Regions from separate parts of the Homo sapiens genome. Here region 1 is linked to region 2. The links are contacts of gene promoters, found by promoter capture Hi-C in human tissues and cell types (Jung and others, 2019). All regions are on one chromosome and are shown on one strand. Each heading gives the region's core, a stretch centred on a gene start or on the middle of the fragment in contact. The rest is flanking DNA. Distances are from core to core; before and after follow the strand shown. Region 1 overlaps PDE8B (phosphodiesterase 8B). Region 2 holds the start of PDE8B (phosphodiesterase 8B).

Region 1 (3,861 bases), core at 688-3,187, 130 kb after region 2:
TGTGGATAATCATAAAATGAATGTTTAATAAATTTTGGAGATTGGATCTAAGATCATGTATAAAGGCAACCTCTTGAATTGATGAAAATGATAATAGTCTGAAGTACCTGTTTATATACTTAGTTGAAACCTGTTTACATAGTTAGAGAAAATACTTAGGCAAGAGAGGAATTTGTCATTTGATAAAATGTGTTAATTAAAGCTTAATTATCCAGCTCTCAAAATTAACAAATTAGTCCACATAGAGTGTGTTTCTCCAAGAGTGACTTCTGAAAGACAGCTGCTGCCCAGGAAATCCTTCCCTACAGTGCTTCGTCCAGTTTTGGACCAGGTGCCTGGAAAACACTGTTGATAAGACTAGCTCTTGCTGTCTCTTATGAGGCAGTGCAGTGACAAATTTGGTAGCAGTTTTAAAGCCCCCTTTTATTCTTGTTTCTTATTTTAAATTGTGTTTACAAGTGGTGGTACTAAGACAGTATACAGTTCAAATTAGGTAGACTGGAGCAATTTAAATAAGAAAATATACTACTGCGCCTGTAAGCCATTTCAGTTGAGTTAGGTTAATATTCTCCTCTGCTCTTCTAACCCGTATCATGATTACTTGTTACACTTACCTTCTCACACTGATATCTTCATTTCTGCAACTATAGGAATGGCGTCTTGCAGTTGGCTAAAATATTGCACTCCGCACGCATACCTCACTATTATTGAATACAGTTCTTGGTTTGACATTTCAGGTATACTTATGAGAAAAGATAGGTTACGATTCATTTTTTTCACCAAAGCCTTTTGAAAGCCTTAGAGAACAAAGAAGTATTACTCTGTGATCTTAAACATAACAACAGGTATCTACATGTGTTGTATTCTCATATTGTCCCAAGCACTTCGAGAAATGCCTCACATAAACTATCTGTTTTGATCTTTACAAAAACCTGTGAAATACGTATTATTATCCTCATTTTATGGATGAGGAAACTGAGGGCCATTGAAGACAAAAAGTTGCCTCAGGTCGCATAACTGGAAAAATACAGAGCCAGATTTCACCCAGTTCTTTCTGCCTTCTTCCCTCTAAACGGATCAAAATAGGAAGACAAAGTTAGAATGCCTTTATGAGTGGAAAAAAATAACATTTTTCAGAGTTTTTTTTTTTAAAGAAAAAACATCAATCCAGTAAATCAACAGTTTTTTTTTATTTTGTAATGTGTAAGAAAGCTTTTTATTGGGATTCTTTAAACAGTCAGTATAAATAACAGAGCTCTAGCTACATGCTTGCTGTGTTGGACAGTAAATAGCTTACTGTATTTGGAGTTGCTCTAGATTAGGAAATTAGTTAAAACTATGATAAACAAAATGAGAGTTTGATTCCAAATATTCCAGAAATATAGGGAAGGTCACCAAGAAAAGTCCCCACTGGAGAGCTGCAGAGGTGCAATGAACCAGCAAGGGGAGTTCTGCTGGGTTTGCCTTTCACCATGCCAGGGGGAATGGTTGGAAGCCGAGTAACATCACAACAGCAAAAAAGGAGAAAAAATGTTTTTGTGTCTGTTGCAAAAGGCCAGAATACCTCACATCCAATTTGGGCCCAGTTAAGTTCTCTAATTGTTGGAGACTTAACTTCTCCATGACCACAACTGTGAATGAAACAGAAGAACGTCATTGCCTCGTGTTAGTGTTGAAGTTTCATTCAGCACACACATAGTCCATTCCATGATCCACGAAGATTTCACTGAATTACAATTCTTTTTGTATCATACACACAGATATATATGCTATTGTTTATGCATTTAGTTTGAAAGATTAGTTTTTTTCCCTCAAAGCATATTATTAACCCTCTTAGTCTGTTAGGATTGCAATAATGAAATACAGTCATGCATCATTTAATGATGGGGATATGTTCTGAGAAATGTGTCGTTGGATGATTTTGTCATTGTGCAAACATCATAGAGTGTACTTACACAAGCCTACGTGGTATAGCTTACTACACACTTAGGCTACGTGGTACAGCCTGTTGCTCCTAGGCTACAAACCTGTAGAGCATGTTACTGTACTGAATACTGTAAATACTTTTAACACAATGGCATTTGTGAATTTAAACATAGAAAGGCACAGTAAAAATGCAGTATAAAAAGAGTTAAAATGGTGCACTTGTATAAGGCACTTAGCATGAATGGAGCTTGCAGGACTGGGAGTTGCTCTGGGTGAGCTGGTGAGTGAATGGAGAGGGAACATGAAGGCCCAGGGCATTATGTGTATAGGACTATAGACTTTATCAGCTTTGTACTCTTAGGCTACACAAAATTCATTAAAACATTTTCCTTTCTTCAATAGTAAATTAGCCTTAGCTTACTGCTACTTTTTAACTTTATAAACCTTTATATTTTTAAACTTTTTCACTTTCTTAATAACATTTAGCTTAAAACACAAACACATTTCACAGCTGTACAAAAAAAATGTTTCTTTATAACATTATTCTGTTAGCTTTTTTCTATTTTTAAATCTTTTTTTTTTTTTTTTTTTACTTTTTCAACTTTTTTGTTAAAAACTAAGACAAACTTTGGCTGGTGCCTACACAGAGTCAGGATCATCAATATCACTGACTTCCCCCTCCACATCTTGTCCCACTGGAAGGTCCTCAGGGGCAATAACACACATGGAGCTGTCACCTTCTATGATAACAATGCCTTCTTCTGGGATACCTCCTGAAGGACCTGCCTGAGGCTGCTTTACAGTTAACTTTTCTTAGTAGTAGAAGGAATATTTTATCTAAAACAATGATAAATAGTATAGCAAATACATAAACCAGTATCCTAGTTATATCTTATCAAATGTTATATACTGTACATCATTACTGTATTGCTACACATTTATACAGCTGATAGTTTAGTGGGCTTGTTTACACCAACATCATCACGGACACGTGAGGGTGTTATGTCTGCTACGACACCACTAGGCAATAGGAATTAGGTTATAATCTCGCAGGACCACCATTGTATATTGAGTCCATTGTTGAAATATCGTTATGAGTTGCATTACTGTATCTTAAATTGAGTAATTTATAAGCAACAGAAATGTATTGCTGACAGTTCTGGAGGCTGAGAAGTCCAAGATCAAGGTGCCAGCAGGTTCTGTGTCTGGTGAGGGCCTGTTCCTCATAGATGGCACCCTCTCTATGTCCTCACATGGCAGAAAGTGCAAGGGAGCTCACTGGAGCCTCTTTAATAAAGGCATTAATCCCATTCATGAGGATGAAGCCCCACTGACTTAGCCACTTCCCAAAGGCCCTGCCTCTTCATACTATCACATTGGATGTTAGATTCCAACATATGAACTGTTGGGAGACATCAGCATTCAGACCATGGCAATAACAAAAAGTACGTAGATTTGATGAACCTGGTATCTGTTTACTTTGTTAAATTAACAGATGAAATGTGAATGGTTTTCATAGAAGAACTAACTTCAATCTTTTATAACTTTCAGGGCCTGTAATTCAGTGTTTACAGCATTAGATCACTGTCATGAAGCCATAGAAATAACAAGCGATGACCACGTGATTCAGGTATGGAAAGAAACCACCTCTATCATTAACATTCAAAATGAACCTTTCAGGTTTAAGCCACACTTTTTATCAAGTACTTTCCCATCATCCTCATGTATCAGCACATTTTCTTAGGAGAAATAAATATCAAGCTGTGCAAAGAATACTGATAGACTTAAGAATTAGATATTCAATAAAGAACAAAAAATTATTACTTCAGATCAGAACCTGCAATTTCTTTGACAGAAATGGGGTTTAAAAAAATTTTATTTTTTTGAGACAGATTGTCACTCTGTCGCCCAGGCTGTAGTACAGAGGTAATCTTG
Region 2 (3,593 bases), core at 123-2,622:
TTGAAGTCTTCATCCAGTCACATCCAAGAGTGGTCCAGGAAGAAAAAGGAAAATAAGAATGAAAAAAAAACAAAAAACAAACCTTAAAATTGGATACTTCTTTGTGCCTTGCATTAAGCCTCTATGTTACTGCCCTTGTCCGTATAAGCAACTCTAGATAAAATCCTTTCTTAGACCATCTAATTTATCTCCCCGTGCCATTGTGAAAATCGGGCAGGAATTACTGCGGGAACCAGTGACTGAATGGGCAGTGGTGTCTCGCAGCTGTAACTCAGAGTTTACAAGGGAAGGATGAACAGCAGCCATCCTTCTAAAGGCATTCTTCCTCTCCTCCAGCACAGCTCAGTCTGTGCATGCCTCACCAAGGAGAATGAGGGAAGGCCTTGTTGACTGCCCAGCCCAGAGTGTGAGGAACAGCAGTTGACATGGGCGGCTGGACGGGATAGAAACCAGCATGAACATTTAGTGACACCTAAGGAAGAGGTGAAAATGGGGGAGAAAGCCAAGAACCATCAGACAGCTTCTTTCTGTTCTTGCCTTGGATCTTAGGGGAACGTATGTGTTCAAGGGTGCCTTCCTCCGCAGGGCCTCCCATCCCTTGGCACAAACTTCCAAACGATGAGTAGACATGGAATGGGCTTCTTCTGAAGACTGGGTCACCATCCAACTCAGCCTTCGGAGTAGGCGGTGGGGCTGGGGGAAGAGGACGGAACCATGAGGTCTCTCCATCACTTCCCGGGTGTGTTGAGAGGCAAGCAAATGCGGTGGGTGGGCCTGGGCTGTAGGGCCCCTGCCATTTCGGGAGGGGCCTCCTGGTGTTTAGCTCTGGGATGTGTGAAAATGTGTTGGTGAAAAGCGAGAGGCTTACACAGCCCTTCAGGGGAAGAGGGGCTGGGGCGCTGGGGGCGGCGTCGGGATGAGTGCAGAAGAGACGAGGCCTCTGGACAGCGGAGGAGGAGGGGAGGGCGCCGAGGCGCGGTGCCAGCTGCCGCGCACAGGGGCCCCGCGGCGGAGCCGAGCCGCGGGCACGCTCTGCCCTGTCGGGAGAGCTCCGGGAGCGGCGGGAGGGGCGGAGGGGCGCAGTGGGGCCCGGGCGGCTGCGGCCGCGGAGCCGGGGCACCTGAGGAGGAAGGAGGGTGGGAGCGAGGGAGGGAGGGGACGGGCGCAGACCGAAAGTGGGGAAAGAAGGTGCAGGCAGGCGGGCAGGCGGGCGGGCGCCCTGGCCCAGGGCCGCGGGTGCGGGAGCCCGGCGAGGTCGAGCTGGGCGGCGGCGGGGGCCGCGCCGAGGGAGGAGGGGAAGGCGGAGGCGCGGGGAGCGTGTTTGGGGCGCCGCGGCGGGGAGGGTGGCGGCCGCTGGTGCGCGCGGGGCGCTGTGTATGCGCGCTCCCCCGCTCGGGGAGGAAGATGGCCCAAAAGGGAAAGTTGGGGTGACGCGCGCGGTCCCCGGAGGCTCGGCGGGGGGCACCGCGGCCAGCCCGACGGAGCGGCGGACACACAGGCCGGGGGGCGCGCAGTCCGGGCGCCGCCGCGGCCGCCCCCTCACTGCAGGTGGCAGCGGGTGCGCTGGGTCCCGGCGGCCGCGGGCGCGGGCGGGCGCGCGGGGGAGCCCGGCCGAGGGATGGGCTGCGCCCCCAGCATCCATGTCTCGCAGAGCGGCGTGATCTACTGCCGGGACTCGGACGAGTCCAGCTCGCCCCGCCAGACCACCAGCGTGTCGCAGGGCCCGGCGGCACCCCTGCCCGGCCTCTTCGTCCAGACCGACGCCGCCGACGCCATCCCCCCGAGCCGCGCGTCGGGACCCCCCAGCGTAGCCCGCGTCCGCAGGGCCCGCACCGAGCTGGGCAGCGGTAGCAGCGCGGGTTCCGCAGCCCCCGCCGCGACCACCAGCAGGGGCCGGAGGCGCCACTGCTGCAGCAGCGCCGAGGCCGAGACTCAGACCTGCTACACCAGCGTGAAGGTAAATGCCCCGCGCTGGCACACGCCGTGGGGGCCGTCCGCCCCGTCGGCGGGGCTCGCACGGGTAGGGGGCTCCGGCGGAGTTGGGTGACCGTGAGGCGGTTGGTTTGGAGAGGTTGTCACTAAGGAGGAGTTTACTTTTCATTTGTGGAGATGATGGGAGCCCAGGAAATGTGGTCAGAAAAAGGCCCCTGGAGGGGTCCTGGAAGCGTCCTTAGCTGGTCCTGGGGGACTGGGCGGGGAAGGGAGCGCAGAAGGAAGCAGGTGGGCTGGCCTGTTCCTCCTTGAGGGCAGGAAGGCTGTGGCTTGGTTTATGCAGGAAGAGGGGTGGGGACCATTGAGAGCATTCGGTGGCCAGTCCTGTTGAATGAAATCTGAGCACTGAGCTGGATTTGCGTGCCTTGTAGGTGACTGGTGCAGTTGCAGCACCAGGATAGATAGTGCCCCATATTCCGATTTTTACCTGGGATTACCAGCCAGGCTGGAGTCTCAGCACAGGAACCGAGCGTAGGGATTTGTGAATGAATGAGTGTTCGTGTTTTAAGAGATGTGGGAACGGAGCAGAGTGGAACCTGTTGTTTGTCACTGTAACGTTTCTCTGGGTTGGCTGCATCCTAGACAGAATTGAGAGAACCGGGCCATGAGTTCGGAGTGTCAGCAGAGCCACCGTGAGGGGACGTGGTTTCCAGTGCAGTACAGCTGTCTGAGGATGATTCTGCACATACAACTGATCTTCCCAGAGAGTGGGATTTTGAGGAAGTGGAAAAAATTGTTTAGATGGTTAAAGCAGTCGCTAAATATTTATTTCTTAAAGACAGAAGAAAAATAATTATTTAAATAGTGTCCTCCCGTATGTTCTCAAAGTACCGTTAAATCCAAGAGGCTTTTCATTGTGTAAATCTGGGCACTGGGTCTTTTTTCCTTTCAGCAAACAAGATAACAATGGCATATCCTATTGTACAGAGAGAAAAAAATACTCCTAATGTCAGATAGAATCACAGCCTTTACCTGGTCAATAGGTTACCAAGAACCATTCCATGGATTATTTGTCAAAGACACATTTGTATTTTTAATAGTTAAAAACTTGGTCTTCATTGGATGAAGGCAGCCCACAGTGGAGGAGTGAGGAGAAGGATAACATGTTTTGGCTTCAATCTGGAAGTCCAAAAGTTTTTTAATGAACCTATTTTTTTTTTAACAGCATCTGATTGTTTAACATGAAGCTTGACTGATGTTTGCTTGTGGTTGCAGTGTTTCTCTGGCAGTAATCATAATCACCATTATAGTAAAAACATCGTTTATTGAGCACCTACTATGTGCCAGGAGTAAGCTTTCTCTCCTAACTATTGAATGTTAACAGTGTGATCTTAGCATAGCATGTCTGAAGACTAGAGTCTAGGATTTATGACAGTACAAACCTACCAGTTGCCCATTCGTTACAGAGGCATGTGCTGAACGCTATACTTTGCTTTTGTCAAGCTCTCTCTCTCTCCCCCTCCCTGTTCACACAAAGTTAGCTTTAGGAGCAATTTTCAGGGATGAAAATGTTAAATTTGGTGAAAATATTAAGTTGGGATATTATCAGTAAAGACCATCCTTTTGCCTGACGGTTGAAGACCTGAAGCAGTAGTTCAAAA

Evidence for each region. The method cuts DNA at HindIII sites, captures the fragments that hold promoters and counts their contacts. A contact is called where the count stands out against the background at its distance.
Region 1: a fragment that was not itself captured here is called in contact with the fragment with the promoter of PDE8B in region 2 in 2 of the 25 tissues and cell types used here (IMR-90 fibroblasts and hippocampus).

What each region holds. Positions count from the first base shown.
Region 1 is chr5:77,341,376-77,345,236 of GRCh38, forward strand. PDE8B (phosphodiesterase 8B) reads left to right here. Exons shown (of 22, transcript NM_003719.5): 7 at 3,478-3,556. Among named protein-coding and RNA genes, the nearest start is that of PDE8B, 130 kb to the left of the region's middle. The HindIII fragment of the contact is 7,622 bases long and covers 1-3,861 here.
Region 2 is chr5:77,209,308-77,212,900 of GRCh38, forward strand. PDE8B (phosphodiesterase 8B) reads left to right here and starts at 1,373. Exons shown (of 22, transcript NM_003719.5): 1 at 1,373-1,957. The coding sequence starts at 1,619. The HindIII fragment of the contact is 4,534 bases long and covers 1-3,593 here.